7 separate regions of the Homo sapiens genome follow, and all the other regions are linked to region 1. Evidence: promoter capture Hi-C in 16 types of primary human blood cells and fetal thymus (Javierre and others, 2016). All regions are on one chromosome and are shown on one strand. The core of a region is centred on a gene start or on the middle of the fragment in contact, and the rest is flanking DNA. Distances in the headings are between cores, read along the strand shown.

The links. Contacts are between HindIII fragments. The CHiCAGO score rates a contact against its expected background, and 5 or more counts as called.
Region 2: a fragment that was not itself captured here is called in contact with the fragment with the promoter of RNF20 in region 1 in 5 of 17 cell types (non-activated CD4 T cells, total CD4 T cells, total B cells and 2 more); the score reaches 8.2 in non-activated CD4 T cells.
Region 3: a contact is called between a fragment that was not itself captured here and the fragment with the promoter of RNF20 in region 1, in 6 of 17 cell types (total CD4 T cells, naive CD8 T cells, total CD8 T cells and 3 more). The highest score is 14.3, in total CD4 T cells.
Region 4: a contact is called between a fragment that was not itself captured here and the fragment with the promoter of RNF20 in region 1, in 7 of 17 cell types (naive CD8 T cells, total CD8 T cells, activated CD4 T cells and 4 more). The highest score is 13.3, in naive CD8 T cells.
Region 5: a contact is called between a fragment that was not itself captured here and the fragment with the promoter of RNF20 in region 1, in 2 of 17 cell types (fetal thymus and neutrophils). The highest score is 6.5, in fetal thymus.
Region 6: a fragment that was not itself captured here is called in contact with the fragment with the promoter of RNF20 in region 1 in 1 of 17 cell types (total CD8 T cells); the score reaches 5.0 in total CD8 T cells.
Region 7: a contact is called between the fragment with the promoter of SLC44A1 here and the fragment with the promoter of RNF20 in region 1, in 8 of 17 cell types (activated CD4 T cells, total CD8 T cells, total B cells and 5 more). The highest score is 15.6, in activated CD4 T cells.

The regions. Positions count from the first base shown.
Region 1 is chr9:101,532,373-101,535,253 of GRCh38, reverse strand. It overlaps RNF20 (ring finger protein 20), which reads right to left and starts at 1,401. Exons shown (of 20, transcript NM_019592.7): 1 at 1,340-1,401. It also overlaps a transcript of PGAP4 not described here. RefSeq lists an enhancer at 1,530-1,659. The HindIII fragment of the contact is 1,893 bases long and covers 1-1,522 here.
Region 2 is chr9:105,707,396-105,710,276 of GRCh38, reverse strand. All of the region lies in intron 2 of TMEM38B (transmembrane protein 38B), which reads right to left. LOC107987107 (a long non-coding RNA gene) reads left to right here. Exons shown (of 4, transcript XR_001746868.2): 2 at 2,085-2,232; 3 at 2,876-2,881. It also overlaps the pseudogene LOC100421293. Among named protein-coding and RNA genes, the nearest start is that of TMEM38B, 14 kb to the right of the region's middle. The HindIII fragment of the contact is 7,200 bases long and covers 1-2,881 here.
Region 3 is chr9:105,686,823-105,689,703 of GRCh38, reverse strand. No RefSeq gene overlaps it. Among named protein-coding and RNA genes, the nearest start is that of TMEM38B, 6.3 kb to the left of the region's middle. The HindIII fragment of the contact is 8,166 bases long and covers 1-2,881 here.
Region 4 is chr9:105,554,536-105,557,416 of GRCh38, reverse strand. FKTN-AS1 (FKTN antisense RNA 1) reads left to right here. Exons shown (of 3, transcript NR_184141.1): 2 at 242-303. Among named protein-coding and RNA genes, the nearest start is that of FKTN, 2.2 kb to the left of the region's middle. The HindIII fragment of the contact is 2,062 bases long and covers 372-2,433 here.
Region 5 is chr9:97,627,697-97,630,577 of GRCh38, reverse strand. The region is part of intron 1 of TSTD2 (thiosulfate sulfurtransferase like domain containing 2); the gene reads left to right. Among named protein-coding and RNA genes, the nearest start is that of TSTD2, 4.2 kb to the left of the region's middle. The HindIII fragment of the contact is 6,117 bases long and covers 1-2,881 here.
Region 6 is chr9:105,403,898-105,406,778 of GRCh38, reverse strand. It overlaps a transcript of SLC44A1 not described here. Among named protein-coding and RNA genes, the nearest start is that of FSD1L, 43 kb to the left of the region's middle. RefSeq lists a silencer at 1,105-1,305. The HindIII fragment of the contact is 911 bases long and covers 1,042-1,952 here.
Region 7 is chr9:105,243,191-105,246,071 of GRCh38, reverse strand. SLC44A1 (solute carrier family 44 member 1) reads right to left here and starts at 1,421. Exons shown (of 16, transcript NM_080546.5): 1 at 1,168-1,421. The coding sequence starts at 1,203. It overlaps LOC112268038 (a long non-coding RNA gene), which reads left to right and starts at 479. Exons shown (of 3, transcript XR_002956866.2): 1 at 479-1,053. RefSeq lists silencers at 479-558, 899-1,038, 1,049-1,648 and enhancers at 1-874, 875-1,779. The HindIII fragment of the contact is 7,272 bases long and covers 1-2,881 here.

The DNA.
Region 1 (2,881 bases), core at 152-2,651:
TTGAGGAAAAAAAAAAAAAATTAAATTGTAGAGTAAAAGTCAAGGCGGGCCGGGCGCGGTGGCTCATGTCTGTAATCCCAGCACTTTGGGAGGCCGAGGCGGGCGGATCAAGAGGTCAGAAGATCGAGACCATCCTGCCTAACACGGTGAAACCCCGTCTCTACTAAAAATACAAAAAATTAGCCAGGCGTGGTGGCGGGCGCCGGTAGTCCCAGCTACTCGGGAGGCTAAGGCAGGAGAATCACTTGAACCCGGGAGGCGGAGCTTGCAGTGAGCCGAGATCGCACCACAGCACTCCAGCCTGGGCAACAGAGCGGGACTCCGTCTCAAAAAAAAAAAAAAAAGAAAGTCAAGGCTAAATTTACATGACTATAAATTTCTAAATAGGATGGTGATAAGAATGGTGATAAGAAATGAGACAATGGGCAAAGGGTGAAGAGACCAAAAATAAAGTTCTGGAATCTCTCTTCCTGTAATGCCAAAATCAGAAAAGGGCAGTTTGATTATGCCAGAAGTTAATACTACAGTGTTGAAAGAATCACAGAGCTGAAAGAGATCTGTGAAATGCCTACTAAAGTCATTAGTACTAGACAAGTCAGTTATCATCTCTAAGCCTCAGTTTCCTAACCCAGGAATAAATAACCACAGTATATACTTCCTATGCTTATTATAAAATAAAATGGATGATATAATTATAGAAAGAATTTGGCACAAAGCCGAACACAAAGTAAGCACTCAGAAACCCCAGCTCTTCTTTAACGTTTGCAGTGTTTTCCCTATTTCCAAACGCTCTCTCCACTGTTTTATGCAACCCTACGTTAGTTAGACCTGGGTGCGAATTTCAGTTCTGCCTGTTAGAGGCCGTGTTGCTTTGAAACAGTGAATTCGCCAAGAGCTTCAGTTTCCTCAACTGCACAATATTAACGAATATATTTTTCGTCTGCCCTGCCTACCTCCCAGGGTGCTCAAAGGAGGCGGAATGGATGCTAAAGCACTTTGGCTACTTCAGGAAACAACGCAGCCATCACCGAGACTAACAAGACTACTCTGCTTCCAATTCAAGCTCCAGGAGAGGACTATCGCTGGCAACAACCTCAGTAGGACCTCGCCTGGAGAGAGAAGACACAGAAGCAGAACAAGGCTGCAATCCAACTCGCTAAAAGCCAAAGACCTCAGCCTCAGCGTGGATAATTGCAGGCCCAGGAGACTGACGGCCCCAAAACTGGAGAGGGTGGAGACTCCTGAGGCCTGGCACAGTCCTGTTGGGCCCTAAGCGTGATCTAACCTAAGTTCTTTGAACTGGCGCCGCGCGGGAACAGAACTCGCAGCAGTTACTCACCAAGGCCCGTGCAGAGATTCCAGCTCTCACCCCTGACCCGCGGCGGAGACAAGGCAGAACTTCCGGGAGGCGGGGCCACGGAGAGGAAAAAGGGAAAGAAAAAAGGAAGTGGCTTCAACCCAGCCCATAGGACTATGAGACCCCGCCGGGCGGAAGTGACGTACGGAGAGGGCACGAGAAGCTTGAGCAAGCGCCGCCTCCCTAGCAACGCTGGGCAAGCGCGGGACCCTCTCCTGGCTACGACCTCTAAGAGTACTCGGGCCTCGCTGATGCCTGACGGAGAGCCCTTGGCTTTTGTTGACTTGTTGACCTTTGCTACTGCGATCTGGTCTTTCTGCGGGGATAAAGTTCCTCATTCTGTTGCTTGTCATTGGGGTTGCCATCACTCGTTCAGACGGCCGATTGGCTGACGGTCCCGTCAATCTCCGGGGACATGACTAGCCTCAGACACCTCAGAAAATTGTTCGTTGGTACCCCTACGTGCTGAAATGAAGAGTTCTGGAGAGAATCTGAGGGATTTGAGGAATTTCAGATGTTGGGGATTTTTTCCCCCGCACAGGGAGCGGTATTCTGCCCTGTCTACACATTAGAATCACTTGGCCTGGACAAAAGCTTTTTTAAAAAAGCGTTCCCCTCATCTCCTCCCCCCAAACCCCGCATTTCCATCCACTAGATTCTAATGCGTAAGCAGGAGTGACAACTACTGCCCTTGTGCTTTTTTGGGAACAAGAAATTGTCCAGGGAAAAGATAAACGCCAATCAGTCTCTGATCTCAGTACTAGTCTATTTTAAGCTAATTAAGCATTGATTTTTTTTTTTAAGTTTATGACAAACTGCTATTTTCCATTCAGTTAAACTAAATGCGTTTTAATGATAGGACGGTAATTAATCTAACCTATTAATGAAAAGCTGTATGTCTCGCAGAACTATGATAAACTACCTAATGACGTCAGCTAAGGGTCTAGAAATGGAAGAATGATCGCTATATCTTTTTTAAAAAATAGAATTTAGGCATCTTGGGAAAAAAAGAAGCTAATCTACACTGGATTTCTGTTAGTGTGAAGACTTTTGTCCCTGTACCTGCTAGGGCTTACCTGTAAATGAAGTAAGATGGTCAACACCAGGGAAACAAGTGTTCCTGGTGCCTGGCAGTGGAACACCTTGACTATCTTGGAAAGAATTAACTGGCCCCAAGTGGACTTCACATTTCATTCCGTGAAGTGGGAGCCTGAGAACATGTGAGTGGGGACACACCTGCCGAAAAGCATTGTATGAGACAATGACACTCATTCTCTCATCTTCTTTGGTTCCTCTACTCTTAGCAAGCCTTTCATTCATAGAACTACTGAATGGCAAGTAATGGTTTTTCTAGCCCAGAAAACTAGAGGTTCACAGACTGCATTTAGCCAACAGTTATGCTTTGTTTATTTTAGACAGTATTGGCTGTCCTGCGTGGTTAAAAACAAGAACAAAAATGAACTTAGTTGCCAACATTTAAAATATGGCTATTTTACATAAAAATCCAAATTATCAGTTTCTCTA
Region 2 (2,881 bases), core at 257-2,756, 4.2 Mb before region 1:
GGAATATCCAGTACAGTTGTGCTTACTAGACTTCAAGAAAGATCTGAAAGTGGAAAAAGAACCAAAGAAGGGCAGTTCAAGTGACAAAGGGGTGTGTGGAAGGTGCTGCAGTATGAATACTGTACAAATATTTTGACTCTGGTCTGAAAAGATAAAAGAATGTTATCGAAAACTACATGGAATAATTGAAGTCCCCTCAAGTTTGAAAGTAAGCATTTTAGGACAAATAAAAGGACATTCAACTTTGTACTTGCGGAAACTAATCCCTAAATATGAATAAGCGTATATTGATTCATGGGTAATAGGTCCATAATAAATTATTGGAAACTAGGATGTCTGAATATCAAGGAAGACAGCCGTAGTCTCTTACAGTGCCTCTGTTGGTCTGCCTCAAACTGATTTAGGTGGGAAAAGTTATGGTCCAATATAAAAGTTCCATTTTCGCCATTATTGGCAAATCTTGCCTTTGTTTATTTTGGTGTCAGTGTTTTCTGCTTAATCATTGGCTTTGTTGGCATCTGCGTTTATTTACTTGTACACCACATGCAGTTTACATCTTCCTTAACTACTCTCCTTCCCAGGTAAATTCCAATTATATTCGACATCCAGCTAAGAGGGCCCATCTCTTCTCACCTCTATCCTAGTCAGTATGTTCAGCAAATATTTATTGAGTGCTGACACTGTGGGCAAAACATTGTACTGGTTAATTGAGGAGAAAAGTAGATAATTCCCTTATTCAGTAAATGTCTACTGGGTACAATCTAGTGAATGATTACAGTATGGCCTAATTGTCTTGTTTGAGATGTATTATTCGTTACAATATTTTACACCATTCATATCTTAATATAATTATAGAACCCAATATACTATCAAAGATAAGTAATTGTGTGGTTATATGCCATTTAAAATTATCCCGTGTTTGTCTGATCCCATTATTACAAATAATTAAAAAATGATTTGTTTTAATCTGTAATAAACTGATTTATTGTGCAGTGACTGTAATATACTGGAGTTATATTAAATTGTTTACTCAGCCTCACCAAACACATACTAGGAAATAACCCCCAAAATAAGTATTTAACTTTGCATTAGATATAAACGAGACTGGGTGCTATAATTAGATTATTTTAAGGTAGACAGCTATTATCCCAACTGATGTAGTATGTTCTGTAATTGAGAAAATGTTCACCAAATTTTACTTTTTAGTGATTTACATGTACATTTTATAGGGGACATGTTCTATGTATAGTGAATAAATAACTTTGACAGTAAAAAAAAAAAAAATAGCCAACGTGGGAAACATAGTGAGACCTCATCTCAACAAATATAAAAATTTTAAACATTAGCCAGGGGCCAGGCATGATGGCTCACTCTCTGATGGGCTATTATTCCAGTATAGTTAGAGCAACATAAAAAAAAAAATCAACAGATAACATGTTGGATAGCAATAATTCTAAGAAGAAAAATAAAGAAGGATGATGTGATAGTCATGGGAGAGGAGGTGCTACTTTAGTCAGGGAAGGCCTCTCTGATAAAACAAAATATGAGACTTCTGAGGAAAAAAAGATTACAAAGAGAAGAAAGAAAGTACAAAGGCATTGAGGTAGAAGAATACCTTACGTTGGAACATTCAAGAAATAGCAAAGCTCATGTGACTAGAGCAAACTGAGCAAGAATAGAGTTGTAAGACGTTACATAAAAGAAAGTGAAAGCGAGTATTTTGCAGGGTTTTACAGGCCATGGTAAAAGTTTGGGATATTGTTCTTAATAAGATAAGAAATTACTGAGCACATGAGTGACATGTTCTAACTTAAGTTGTCCCTCAGTATCTGTAGGGGACTGGTTTCAGGATTCTCCTTCAAAATCTGTGAATGTGAGAGCCCCTATATAAAATAGCAGAGGATTTGTACATAACCTACACACATCCTCCACTACACTTTAAATCATCTCTAGATTATTTATAATACCTAATACAGTGTAAATACTATACAAATAGTTGTTACACATTATTGTTATTTGCATTATTTTTATTGTTGCATTGTTATTTTTTATTGGATTTTTTTCCAAATATTTTTGATCTGCAGCTGGTTGAATTCAAGCATGCAAAACCCATGGGTATAGAAGGCCAACTGTAATAATTTTGTCTGCTCCATGAAGAATAACGAATAGACTCAAAGGGATAATCAAAGAAGCAGCAAGACCACTTAGGAAGCTCCTGCAATCATCCAGGAGGTTAGTATTATAGGAACAGAAGTAGAAATAACAGAAAGTATCAAATTCTGGATATCTTCCTTTTTGTATAGTTTCAGCATCTATACACATCAAAAAATTCTTCCAAAATGCTAATAACTTTTAAAAATATTGTTATAGAAATAAAAGTCTTTGGGAAAGTTTTTTAAAACACATAGCAACTGGAAGACTACACTTTAAGAGATGGTTAAACAAATCTGTGAGAGATAGTGGCTACAAAGTGTGAAGACTCTAAAGTTAAAAACTTCTTGTTTTGATTCTAGCTCAACCACTTACTAGACAAGAAAGTTATAGCAGCATTTCCCTATGCCTCAATTTTATCATTTGTCAAATGGAAATAATAATAGCTACCTTATAGTACTCCTCTGATTAAATATAACAATGAATATAAAGAACTTAACTGACATATCGTAACAACTCAACATTGCCATAGGTTCCCAGGATTACTTTTTCCCATTGCTACTATTATTTGTAATATCCCTTTTAGAACTGGTTACATATTCATTTTAAAATTATCACAATAAAAATGAACTGTAAGTGTTCCTGTTATATATTTAATGATATGGTTCTTAACAGAAAACAGTTTCTGCTTTATACATTAAAAAAACTATAATTTTTATTATAGATTATT
Region 3 (2,881 bases), core at 192-2,691, 4.2 Mb before region 1:
TCAGTGCCAACATCTCTTAGCCTCTGGGTCCCCCTATTGAATATTGCCAGGAGAAAGACCCTGTCCTGGCCTGGGACAGCTGTACACTCCTGGTTAATCAGTTCTGATGGGAGGCCGGGTCACGTGGTTCAGATCTGATGCATCCCTACATATCAGAGGCAATTTCCTGAAAAAGGAAGGAGCGGCTGGGTGCAGTGGTTCACACCTGTACTCCCAGGACTTTGAGAGGCCAAGGCAGGAGGATCGCTTGAGCCCAGGAGTTTGAGACCACCCTGAGCAACATAGTGAGACACTGTCTCAAAAAAAATAAAGAGAAAGGAGGGAGCTAGGCAGACATCCCAAGAGATGTCTAGTATAATCATTTTCTTTAACCTGTTTATTTTATTTTATTTATTTTTTAATTTATTTATTTTTCTTTTTTTGAGGGTGAGTCTTGCTCTGTTGCCCAGGCTGAAGTGCAGTGGCGCGATCTCAGCTCACTGTAACCTCTGCCTCCCAGGTTCAAGCGATTCCATCCTCCTGAGCAGCTGGGATTACAGGCACCTGCCATCACGCCCGGCTAATTTTTGTATTTTTAGTAGAGATGGGGTTTCACCATGTTGTCCAGGCTGGTCTCCAACTCCTGACCTCAAGTGATCTGCCTGCCTCAGCCTCCCAAAGCACTAGGATTACAGGCGTGAGCCACAGCGCTCGGCCAACCCATTTATTTTAAAGTAGGAAACTAAGTGCTAGAGAGGTCACCATGGGCAGTGACAGACCAAAATTTGTTACTATTCTGTTACAATCAGTCTTCCCTATGTACTCCTACTAGGTTTTCTCCTGTCTAACAGAACCCAAATACTTCTTTTGAAGTTTTCCTTTACAGAGAGATTCAGCATCCCTACAGCAATGAAAAGGCCACCCACCAGATAAGGGCCAGGAAGACCAATTAGTAATCATTAGTAACCCCATCCCATTCTTTGACATTATCTCAGCAGATCCCATTGCTTTGTTGTCATTTAAGATTTCTTTTTCTTTTTCTTTTTCTTTTTTTTAAGACAGAGTATCGCTCTATTGCCCTGGCTGGAGTACAGTGGTAGGATCTTGGCTCACTGCAACCTCCACCTCCCAGGTTCAAGTGATTCTCTTGCCTCAGCCTCCCAAATAGCTGGTATTATAGGTGCCTGCTGCCATTCCCAGCTAACTTAAGATATTTTTTAAATAAAATAAAAAGTCCAGTCCAGTTAAAACATCCATCTTACATGCAATATAGAACTTCTTTCCTCCCATTTGCTCAGGACTGCCTGTCTCAGAGACTTTGATGGGGCAATGGGCATGGTGGAGTCCTCCAGCCTTTCTTCATCTTCTGCTCCTTTCATCTGCTATGTCTTCTAGGGTTAGGGCAGTGAGGAGGGAAATTAGAGAAAAGGAACAGAAGACTTTCTAGTTGGCAAATGTTGGTCATAGTTTTTGTTTTTTGGTTTCTTTGTCTTGGTTTGCTTTTGGCTATTGATATTCTTCTCTATGGCAGGCTGTCAATGCAGACTCATTCATGGGGTTTATTTGTGGGTTCCCCAATGATGCCATGGAGCTCACACAGCAAGATCTCCTAACCTCTACAGTTAAGGCAGACACCACTGGTTGAATAACCCAGCACACATATTCAACTCTGTGTATCCGGTTAAAACATTAGATATAGTTTGTTCAGCCTCTCAGCAAGGTGTGAACTTGTGTTAGGATACTGGCAAATAAAACTTCAGGGGACCTAGGTTGACATGCTTCTGAAAACAAAGTAAGGAAAAACAAAGTTGAAGGACTGACACTGTCCAGCCTCAAGATTTACTATAAAGCTACGGTGATAATCAAGACGTACGATATTGGTGAAAAAATAGAAAAATAGATCAATGAAAATATGTGGCTTCTCTGATAAAAGGGACTATGCCCTTGACATTGGCCCTTCTCCTTGTCTTTCTGCCTAGAGCTAGGGCAGCCATGTTGTGACCATGAGAGAAAATAGCAGATCATTGAAGTTATCAACTGTCCTTCTCAGACTTCCTGTTACGTGAAAAAATAATTTCTTATCTGCTTAAATAGAGTCTGAATTGGCTTGGGGGAAGTTAGCACCTCTTTCTTCACAGGGAGAGGAGTAGGAAGGCAAAGCCTCTAGCCCTCTGAATTCCCTTCCATGAATTTCCCTTCAAATTCTTGACCTCTTGGATTGTTGAAAGTGAAGTTCACTAGGCCAGCTGTTATATTTTATTAAGTCCTGCATAGACAGGGCTTAATTGTCTTTTCAGAATGTAGAAGTAGCATCTTTTGTCTTAGGGGATCTAATGGAATTTCACGATAAATTAGCATCTTGTTATACTAGATGACAGGCAAAGGAAGGAGATTAGAAAATGGGGTGGATGACGCCAGGTGTGGTAGTTGATACTTACAATCCCAGCACTTTGGGAGGCCAAGGTGGGAGGATTTCTTGAGGCTAGAAGTTTGAGACCAGCCTGGGCAACATAGTGAGACCCCATCTCTACAAAATGTTTAAAAAATAGCCAGGAGTGGTGAGGTGCACCTGGTCCCAGCTACTCGGGAGGCTTAGGTGGAAGGATCACTTGAGCCCAGGAGTTTGAGGCTACAGTAAGATATGATCGTACCACAGCACACCAGCCTGGGCAGCAGAGCAAGACCCTGTCACAAAAAAGAATAAGATGGATGGGTGAGGTTTGAAAGAAAATGCACATGGCTGTGGCTGGGAACCCACAAAGTGTCGGTTATCTGTATAGATGGGTTGATCAAACCGAAACACTAGCAGTGAGAACACATGTACTTGATATATGGGCAAATAAAAAGAATCGTACCTAGGGATTTATAAATGTGTCCAAATACCAGAGCATGCATGGTCAGG
Region 4 (2,881 bases), core at 153-2,652, 4.0 Mb before region 1:
ATCCAAAAGGTGGTTGTTAAGGCTCAGATATTAATCTTCTTATAAATTTTTGAAAACCATAATTCACTAAACCAGTTACTGTAATTATAATTTATTTCTACAAAACGGAAAATACTCCCATCATATATTTGTTTTCTAAGCTTTGTTTTTAATTCTATCAGTACAGAAAGAAAAGGAAGAAAAAATCTTCCTCACTTCCTACAGGTTATGACATTTACCAACTTTTTGTTTTTCCTTCCAGAAATTTCCTATGCACATACAAGCTTACTGTTGAAGTCCTCTCATCCAATGCACTCAGAACGGGTAGGTACTCAGTAGGTTAATAAAAAAAAGTGGAAGGTTACACCAAGAGGAAGTAAGTTATCAAAGCTTAATGGCATCATTAACACAGGTGCTAACGTGATGGGACATGGGAAAACTTGAGCATCACATACTTGCTATTGATTGAAACACATCAAATATAAAAATTCTTGAGTTTATAATGACTCCTTAAAAAATAAAATTCAGTCGTGATTGAAGATTGCCAAGTTGAAGATTAAATATTCTAAAACTTGATAAGGGAAAACATCAAGCATTTATCCTGCCTTTCTTGTATGAATTGAATTTTAGTGTAACCAAAGTACTTATAAGAGTTCCAGCTAATAAATGGAGGATGATAAAACAATCACGATTTTGTAACTCCTAATAAAATAATCGAAAGGGCAACATCAATAGATGATAAAATTAAGGTGAAAGGTTGATGGGGAACTTTATAATAGACTGGCATCACCTAAACCCACTGATCTTAATCTCACTAAATTTGGGACAAGCATATATTATGTACTTCCTGATGTGATAGAAAGTACACAGCCACACCTGTGAAGGATTCTTGCCTAAAAATTGAACCTGCATTTACTCAAACTCTAGATCTAATACAGGATATAGAGAAGCAACTAAATTCAGAAAACGGGACATTCTACCAGACAAATTCCTCAGTTTTTTTCATAAATGGCATTTAAAAGCAGAGGGAACTATTGTAAAATCAAATATTTAAGAGATGTAACGGAGTACAATGTGTGGACCCTGTCTAGATCTTGATTTGAACAAGATAACTGTAAAAAGATACTTCTGAGACAACTGAAATTTTAGTATGGACTGATCCATTAGATAATAGTACAGAATTACTGTTAATTTTGCTAAGAATGTTAACAGAATGTGGCTGTTTTTAAAAGCCATCATGGATGCATATAGCATACTTACAGGTGACATTTTAAAACAAAATAGATAGCACAAACATGGCAAAATGTTAACAATTGATTAGGTGATGAGCACAAAGCACTGGCTTTCTACTTTTCTGTATATTTGGAAATTATAATTAAAAGTAACAGGAAAAGGGAAAAATTATCAGGTTCTTAGAAATAAATACTTTCCAAGTGTATAACAAATCTAGTTCTGAATAAACCTTCTCAAAAAGGCAGTTTCAGTAGAGGGTTACAATGGCCAATCTTCTGTTTTGAACTAAGTTCATTTTAAGCATGGACCAGCTGATTAGAGTATCTCACTGTTTTTCTTACAAAACCATAGACATAATGCATCATCCATCATTTGTAGTTTCTGTTTCTGTAAAATGGACCAGGAACTTAAAGATACAAGTGAAGGAATATAAATTTGGAGTCCTGGAATTTATTTTTAAAAATCTTCCCCTATCACTCACAATTACTTTGGCCACAACTAACTTTGCAACTTTTTAAACTCTTCATCTCTAATGGTTCTCGTACTTTTCTTATAAGTACCTTTTCATACTCATTTCATATTTATTTTGGTTTATATATTTATATAATTGGTTTACATACTTACATGACTACAACAGTGACTACCACCTACATAAGCAGGTTTGGGAACAAACATAACTGAAGGTAAATATACAACTAAACTGGTGGCAGTGTTACTTATCAAGCATACTGAAAGGTCAAATGTGAGCCCTCAGCTCATGGCAAACGTCAAGTCAGTATGCTTTAATCTGGATAGCAAATACAGCTGAAAGAGTGGGTACAAGGATGCATAAAAACAGCCTCTCTTACAAGTAAATATTCATGTTCTATAAACCACTCAGCTGTGCACACATGTAAGGATCCTGGCCGACTCCTAACATTTGTAGGGTCTGGGCCAAGAATACAAATGAAAGCCAACCCTGACATATTTTCAGTGTCTAAATAGCTGAGCGTTAACCAACAAATAAAATGTTATACTCTTCTACTTTAACATGTATTCTCAAGGAACAGAAATCTAGGTTCAAATATGCGATTCGCAGATTCTTCAGAAGTGTACTAGAAAGTGATACTAGGTTGGCCTGCCCTTCCCTGATCCCCTGGGTCTCTTTTTACTTCTAGCTTAAGCCTGCCACAGGGGCCTATCATGCATGCATGTGGACAACTCAGTCTGCACATCCAAGCTTCATCTGTACTTCCCACAAACTGCCAGCCATAGGGGTATATACATCTGTAGTAGTCTTTTTTCAGGATGGATTTGGACAAAAGGCCTGCACATATCCTGGAAGCAAGCTTCAGGCTGATGAGGCAAGGAATCCTGGGGTTCTGGCTGATAACATAGTATAGAATTCTGTGGGTAAAGGAACATGGATTCCAAGTAGGCATAGTCCCTTGGCTCCTCAATTTTTCATCCCATGAAGAGAGGCACAGCAAGAGTGTGGGGATCCGGTTAGTTAGCTTACCTTAGGTAGGTAACAAGAGAAGGGTCCTGGAGAGCCCCTGGCTCATGAGTCAGTGCCTTATCCCCAGATAATATAAAAAGCAGCCTGGGAAAAAAGCTGCAGGCACCAATAAGGGAACTAGCACAGGGTGTTGTGCCTGGAGACATGCCCATGACTGCACAGATGGAAAAA
Region 5 (2,881 bases), core at 111-2,610, 3.9 Mb after region 1:
TAATAAGGAAGATCCAGCAAAGGAAACTGAGAAGCAGGGGCCGTTATCCCTAGCTGGTATTTTCATGATTTGTTTGTTTGTTTGTTTGTTTGTTTATTACTTACTTAATGTCTCTCCTTACCAGAATATAAGCTCCAAGAGAGCAGGTACTTCAACTGTTTCATTCATAGCTGCATTCCCAGGACTATTCCATGGGCCCGGCACATAGCAGAGGTGCCACAAATAATAATAATTCAGAGTATGTACATAAATCAAAATAAGCTGAGACTGAAAAAAGATGCAGAGTCGGAGGAGATCATTTTGGGGTGGTGGGAAAGGCACCCCACACTCAGGTGCAGAGACCTTGAGTCAGGAAAGAACATGGCTCATTTGTGGAACTGGGCATGGTCCAGTGTGGCTAGAGTAGGATATCTGATGGGGAATGGGGAGCATAGTCAGAGATGAGCCTAGAGTATAGGGAAACTAAGTTTTTCAGGCCTTCAAAGGAAGCAGTGACACAGGGTAGCAGACAAGACATAAGTGAAAGGTGACACTTGAGTTCAGTCTTCATATACATAGTAAGCATATGGGGAGGGAAAGAAGTGAAAAAGTAAGGGAAACAAAGCAGTGGAAAGCATAAATGCTGGGACAGACTACATCAGGTCATATAGAGGGAGATTGGAAAAGATGCTGGAGGTGGGACCGGATTGGATAGTAATTCCTTTCGACAATGTTACCTCCCAAATGTACTGCCCTTATAGGTAAATAAGTTATCTGTTTCTAGAACAATGCCTGGAACCTAGAAGACCCTCCATAAATATTTGTTGAATGAATTTTAATTTGGAAATGATATATGTACTTTCTCTACCTTTACAATAAAACAGCTTTGAGCATGGAGGAAGTGTGTTGAATAAGATTCTTCTACTTATTTTACTTCTGCCTGGAAGGCTTACAGGTTTGTGTAGAGTTAGGGATGTACTTTTTTCAGTGGGACTTTATATGAAAGACATTTTCATGAGAAAGGAAAGAGAAGCTAAAGAAGGTAGTATTTCTTCACCCAGTCTCTTCCACTTATTTTTCAAATACAAGAGAATTTAGGTTTAATAAATCTGTATTACCTTGCCTTACCCTTATAACAAAGCTCATTTTGAGCCCCATGAAAGCACCACTTAGCTGATTCAAATGCATTTTATGTGGTGCAAGTGACATCTTAATTTATGAATCCAAGGAACAAAGGTCCTTTATAAGAAAGTTGGTATTGCCTGTGTGTGTCTGTGTATGTTTAGTCTCCATCAGTCCTATCCAGCATTGTTAACAAGCAGTGTGTGTTCCCCCACACATAAACTGCTCCTTGTTGCCTTCACCTGGTTGAGGTACCCTGTAGGCAGAGTTGTGAATTGGCAAAGTTTGTCACCAGTGTCTCCCACCTTCCTTTCTCTCATTCTTAGTGGTGCTTTTTCTGCTCCCTCTTGTGGAGTTTGGGACTACTTTGCATGTTACTATTTTCAGAACCTTCAGTGTCCACCTCTGGCTGCCTCCTTCAATATTGTCCTGAAGAAACTAACTTTGCCAGTTCACTAGTAATATGAAATAACCAGTTGTTATGTTGTGGGGCAGGAATTTGGACAGGGCACAACAGGGACACCTTGTCTCTGCTCTCAGCTCAGAGGCCAATCTGGAATCTGAAGGGTCTAGTGGTTGATGCTGGCTGTCAGCTGGAGGCCTCTGTTCCTCTCCACCTGGTTCTCTGTGTGTGGTCTCTGCATGGGTTGGATTGGCTTACTCACAATACAGTGGTTTGGTCTCCTCAGCGTGAGCATCTCAGAATGAGAGCTTGCACTAGCGTATCCTTTTGAGAACCCAACCTCAGTCATACAGCATTGCTTCCATCACGCTTTATTTTTGGGAGTAGTTAACAAGCCTGCCTAGGCTTAGGGAAATGGACCAGAAATACTGCTGCAGCCATTTTTGGAAAATATAATCTGTCACAGCTAATTTTTAAATAAAATTTTAATGTTAAATTTAAAATACAGCATTCAATTAAAATATTAATAATATTACCATTCATTGAACCCTAGTTTGTGCCAGACACTATATATTAATATTTCTTTCCAGTCTACAGTACAGTACTGTAATGTAGATACTACAATGCACAATTTCCACAAGAGAGATTTAGAACTCAGAAACCTTAAGTAGCTTGCCCATGTTCACATGCTTGGCAAACTGCTGCAGCACAAACCAAAGCCCATACTTTTTCTCAGTGTGCCTCTTAGTGCTTGTCACCTGTCACCTTTGCTTTACAAAAGAACCAACATGGTATGATGGTTGTAGTGTGTCCATTTTGACAAGATTTGGCCACAGTAGCGATTTTGACATTTCTTCTGGCATATTACAGTGGGGCTGTCTTGGGAACTATTTCTTCTAAGGAAGGAAATTTTCATAGCTCTGAAATTAAGGGGCAAAAAGAAGAAAGTGTTTATAACTGAAGGTGCTGGCACACATCTTGATTGATTTGGGTTGTACCTGTTGCTTTTCTGGTATTATTTACCCTAATGACTGCATGGCTCGCTCCCTAATTCAGGTTTCTGCTCAAATGCTATTGCTGCAGAAAGGCTTTTCCTACTCTCTGTGTTCGAAGGGCTTCTCCATCACTGCCTCCCTACCCTGCTGATTATTCTTCATAACCTTTACACCATCTGACTTTAAAAATAAAAAATCAATTTATCCACTTGTTTACTTCACCCCACTGGAATGTAAACTCTAAGCAGGCAGAAACTTTTTCACTTTCGTTTACTGCTATATTCTCAGTGCTTAGAATAGTGCTTGACTTCGAGTCGTTCCTAAGTAAATACTATTGATTTAGTAAGTAAATGGATGGTTAGCTTGGGCTACTTTGCCCATG
Region 6 (2,881 bases), core at 248-2,747, 3.9 Mb before region 1:
TCAAAGACAGTTTCTTTTTAAAAAAATTTTTTTTAAAGAGATGAAGTCTTGCTCTGTCACCCGGGCTGGAGTGCAGTGGCTCAATCTCAGCTCACTGCGGCCTTGAACTCGTGGGCTCAAGGAAGCCTCCCACCTCAGCCTCCTGAGTAGGTGGGACTACAGATGCACGCCACCATGTTCGGCTACTTTTTCTATTTTTTGGTAGACATGGGGTCTCACTATGTTGCCCAGGCTGGTCTTGAACTCCTGGCCTCAAGCAATCCTCCTGCCTCAGCCTCCCAAGGTATTGAGATTATAGGTGTGAGCCACCACGTCTGGCCAGTTTCTGTTAATTTCTACTGTTAATAGGCTGTACTTTCTTATTTCTTTGTGTACCTTGTAATTTCTTGTTGTTGAAAACTGGACATTTTGCATATTATAATGTGGCAACTCTGGAAATCAGATTCTTCCTCCTCCCTAGGGTTTGTAGTTGCTGGCTTATTGTGGGTTATCGTTGTTTATTTGTTTAATGACTTTTCTGAACTATGTATTGTAGAGACTGTATTCTTTGGTGTGTGTGTGTGTGGCCACTGAAGTCTCTGTTTTGTTAGTTTATGGTCAGCTAGTGATTTGACAGAGTTTTCCTTAAATACCTGGAGCCACAAAAAAAAAGAGATCACCTTCCAGTCTTTGCACATTCATTCTTTATGGGGGCACTGCTTAACCCTTAGCAAGACTGTTTACAACTCTGCTCTAGCCTTTACTTCCTGCTTGCATCGAAAGGTTAGCCAGAAGCGAACGTTTGTGGTCTTCTCAGGTCCTTCCTGTGTCAAGCCCTGGGCATGTGTGTGGCCTTGGACATTTCCTAGTATATGCAGGAGCTTTTGAAAGCTGTTATTCCTCCGTGTATGTCCTTTTCTAGCCTCTTCTTTCCCAGGCTTCCATCTGTCTGCCGTTTGCCGCATCTGTTATTCTTCACCACAGGTTGCTGCAGCTAGTATATAAGCCTTTAAGTGCCATTGACAAATGTCACTTGGGAGATCACTTCAACCCTAAGAAGCTTCTGAGGCATGTGACACAAAGATAAACCCCTGAGTTGATCATTCAGGGAGCCACCAGACAATTCAAAACACACAACCACAATTTTTTTTTTGAGAACAAGGTCTAACCACACATTGCTTACTTGGGCATTGGCAAGCCACATCAGAAACATGAGCCACCACTTTCACAGATGCTGCTAAGCTGGTGAGTGGAGATGGTATGCAGATAAGTTAACATGCCTCAATGCTCTTACTGAAATGTCTTTATTTAGCATTTGCCTAGGTGTGTAAGTTCTTTATTAGATTCTAGAATTTGGTAAAAATTGATTGGACAGTTTTTGTCAATTTGATCATCGTTTTTGTGGAATGATGGAGTTTTGGAATTTCCTGCTCTGCCATTTCAATCATATCATCCCACCATTAGCTTTTTTTTTTTTTTTAAATGGAGTCTTGCTCTGTCGCCCAGGCTGGAGTGCAGTGGCACATTCTCGGCTCACTGCAACCTCCGCCTCCCCGATTCAAGAGATTCTCCTGCCTCAGCCTCCCGAGTAGCTGGGATTGCAGGTGCCCGCCATCACACCCAGCTAATTTTTTGTATTTTTAGTAGAGATGTAGTTTCACCATGTTGCCCAGGCTGGTTTCAAACTCCTCACCTCAAGTGATCCACCCGCCTTGGCCTCCCAAAGTCCTAGGATTACAGATGTGAGCCACCGCGCCTAGCCACCATTAGCTTTTATACATAAAACTAGCGTGGAGACTCTAGCTTGTTCTGTTCACTTTTATATTCTTGGCTTCTAACACGTAGTAGGTACTCATTAAATATCTGTTAGCTAATGAATGAGTGAAATGAAAAAATTATCATTGTCTTACACAATCCCTATAAAACATGACTATTCCCATTTTACAAAGGAAGATCCTGAGCCTCAAAAAGCTTTTGTGGCTTTCGCAGGTTACCCAGCTTCTACAGCAAGAGGCAGAGACAGATTCAAATCTATATCCATAGTGCCAAACCTTTGTTCTCTTCCTTATACGATGCTGTCTCCTTTAGGCATCAGAAAATAAGGAGATAACAACTCTGTTGTATTTAACTGCTTTCGAAGCATATTCCTATCCCCTAAGTTCATTTATTTATCATCGTAGTCCTACAGCACAGGCTGAGCATATAACATTTTATAGTCAAGAAAATAGGCAGAGAGGACAAACAACCCATGACTGGACTGGAGGCACTGGCAATAAATTCAAATACTCCAAATCCTACATCAGTGCTTTTTCTGTTATTTTATCTTGTCTCTTTATGAAAGTAAATACGGCTTCATCTTAAAGTGGTTCTTTCCAGGTGAAAAGTAAATTATTTTCCAATGCAGCATTGCATGCAAACCAGGACCTGGAGATTCACGCTTCACTCCTGTCTTTCTTTCACTTGGCCCCTTACACCAACCAATCATCCGTTTTTGATGATTCTATCCCTCCATTAGCTTTTAAATATATCCCTTTCTCTCCATTCTTTTTTTTTTTTTTTTTTTTTTGAGATGAGTCCTGCTCTGTCACCCAGGCTGGAGTGCAGTGGCACAATCTTAGCTCACTGCAACCTCCGCCTCCCAGGTTCAAGCGATTCTCCTGCCTTTTCTCTCCATTCTTATTGCTAGTGCCCTAGTTGGAATTCTCATTCTGAATCACATGGTATATTTACAATGGTCTCTTCACTTTGTTTTCCTGGCCCAGAAGCAACTCACCCCATGCCATACTCCCCACTGTTGTCAGGGTAATTTTTCCCCTGAAAGGCAAATATCTCCAAACATTCCTTTGGTTAAAATCTTTCAGCAAGTCCTCATTTTCTGCAGCATAAAATCAAGACCGTTAGG
Region 7 (2,881 bases), core at 172-2,671, 3.7 Mb before region 1:
ACAGACCACAGTTAATGAAACTACGCTAATGAAACTGTGAGATTACATCCCAGGCGTTGTCAGAGCCTATTTTTCATACACCACCACAAGACAGTTTGATGCAGTATTCCTGATTGCTTTTTATAGTATTTGTAAATACACTCGCTAATCCACTAAATTAGGTAATTTACAAACAGGTCCTCTCAGTTATTAGTGGCCAGTAGTCGAGTTCTATTACATTTGATCCTCGTACAGTTGTCTAAACATTTCCACCCAGGTTAAGGGCTCGGATCCGAGAGAAGGAGGTTGGCGAAATTTGGATGGGGGCAGGGTAGAAGCTGAGAGAAATCTCTGCATCTCAGCCCTCAGCGACAACATTCAGCCAGTGCCCACAGAAAAACTAAATTCGGAACCTCTTCCTCCTGTTACACTGGCAACAAAGAGGGAGTTTCCGTAGCGCTCCCGTCACCCACCAGGTGCCCAATCTCCTTCCCAGCCCAGAGTCGGCGCTCCCGCAGGGGCCTCCGAGTGCGGGGAGGCCGCGGGGCCCGGGTCACGGCACTAAGGGGGGATGGGGTGCAAGCGAGCAAGCGAGGTCTGCGGAGCGGGCCGTGGAAGGGCTCCGGGACCCGCTGAAACCATCTGAACCCAGCCAGGGGGCAGCGGGCAAGAGAAAAGGGACAGAATATCTAATGAAGCAGAAACTGGAATTCGGTGGGAGAGGTGAAGAGCTCTTGCTGGGGGTACACCTGCGAGGAGCACAGAAAACGGGCGGCGGATGGCGGGGAGACTCCACGGAGGTGGAAGAGAGGAGCCAGGCCCGGAAGAACAGGGAAGGGGATGCCACCTGGGGCAGAGGAGGCGCCAGTGCAGCCTCTACCTGCAGGCGGGCGGGACGGGCAGCTCAGGTGTGACTGGGAGGAGGGGGCCGACTGGGGAAGGGGCCGGGAAGAGCTGAGGGCGCACTAGGCGCCGCGCAGAGGCGCCTTTGAGTCGGCAGCCGCGGAGCCAGCGCACGGGCATCGGCGGGACCCGGCGGACGGAAAGGCGGAGTGGGGGTCTTTGGACTGCACGGTGCGCTCAGGGGAGGCTGGGGACAGCGAGAGGTATCGGGCGGCGGGCGCCCGCCGCGCGACGCGGCGCACGGGAGGCATCCGGGCGGGCGGCCGGGAGGCGGGAGCCCCTCACCTGCGCGGCGGAGGAGGCGGAGCTGCAGCAGCCCATGGCGGGGCCGAAGGAGCCCGGAGGCGGCGCCGGGCGCGCAGCTACGCCCCGGAGCCCCTCGGCATGCGAGCCGGCGGGCGCCCGGGGAGGGCGCGGCCTGGCACCGCACGGCTAGGCGGCGGCGGCGGCTGCAGCGGCGGCTGGTACTCAAGAGGCGGCGCGGCTAGAGGCAGGCGCCGGCCACATCCCCCGGCGGCGGCGACGGCGGCTACGCGTCTCCTGCTCTGCTCCTGCTGCAGCAGCTGCTCCCCAGCGGAAAGGGGCGGGCGGCGGCGGCGGCGGCGCCTCCCTCTGTCCCCCCGCCTCCCGCCTCCCGCGCCCAGTCCCTCTCCCGCTCCCTCTCCCGGGCCGCCGCCTCCTCAGCGCCGCGCGCGTCTCCCATCAGACTCCCCGCCCCCAGTGCAGCGCCGTGCTGGTGGCAGGGCGGCGGCAGCCAGAACAAGGCCGGGCCCTTCCGCGCGTGTCAGAGGCTGCGCGGCGCCGGGCTTATTTAGCTGTGGCACCGAGGCAGCTCTCTGCCTCGAGGCTGGAGGGCAACGCGGTCTGAGGCAGCCAAAGACCGGGCCAACTCGCTGCCAAAAAGGGGCCGGATTGCTTCCGGATCTAGGAGGCAAGCGGGACTTCTCCCTCTCCCTACTGGACGCACAACTCAGGATCCTGATGGCTTCTTACCGCCCCGTCGGCTGTTTTTTTTCTCCAGAGGAAAGCGTACACAAGAAACCTTTCCTGGAGAAGGAATAGGTGATAAGAAGACGGGAAGAAACAAGCATCTGTTGCTACTGTCCCCATTTTGCTGATGTGGAAACTGAGGCTTGAAAGGGACCAAGAACCTAATGAAATGTTCCCAAGGTTGAAATGGTAATAAATAGCCAGAAATGAGGAAAAGGCAAAAAGTTATCCAGGCTCGCAAGTCAAAGCCATACTGGATCTAAGCTAAACTTTCTTATACAGGATAGTCTACAAAAAACAATAAGGGGACATTAATTTATTCATATTAAAAATACTTACTGAAGACACACTACGTTCCAGTGACTAGTACTGGGAATAAAGAGGCGAGCAAAAGAGACTTACCAAGTTCCTGTTGCTAAATCAGTAAGACTCAAGGAAGTAGCAACAAGTTAGAGTAGACGTGGTAACTACCTTCAAGAAATTTACAATTCCAAACGAGTCGTTAGGAAATACAGTATGAGGTGAAAACAGTTAAAAAGTGAAAGAAATAAAACTAAAGATAATGATGTTAAAAAAAACCCCACATTATCAGGCACTGTTATAGCCTTCATATGTCATTTCATCTTGTCAAAGAATGTCTCAAAAGACAGCCACAGGAAAGAAAAGAAAAACTTTATTTGCAAAGCTGCAAGGGAGTGAGACTTCCAAAAGGACTGATTCACCAAATATGAGACATCAAGTTTTAAAGATTAGTTAAAGTATAGAGGGAAGAAAAGAACACAGAATTAAATTGACTTTACATGCACTGAAAGGGAATCTAAGCCAAGGAAAGTTGGAATGGTAGCCTGTAAGGGGACAGCTACAGAAAGGGCCAGGGAAGAAGAATTCCTAATTGATGTTTTCCTATGCCATTTCCTGAGTTCGTGACTGTGGACGAGTTATCTCTCCAAATCTCATTGTCCGCTTCTGTGAAATGCTGGTAGCAGGGATGACTGCAAAGGCTTGTGGT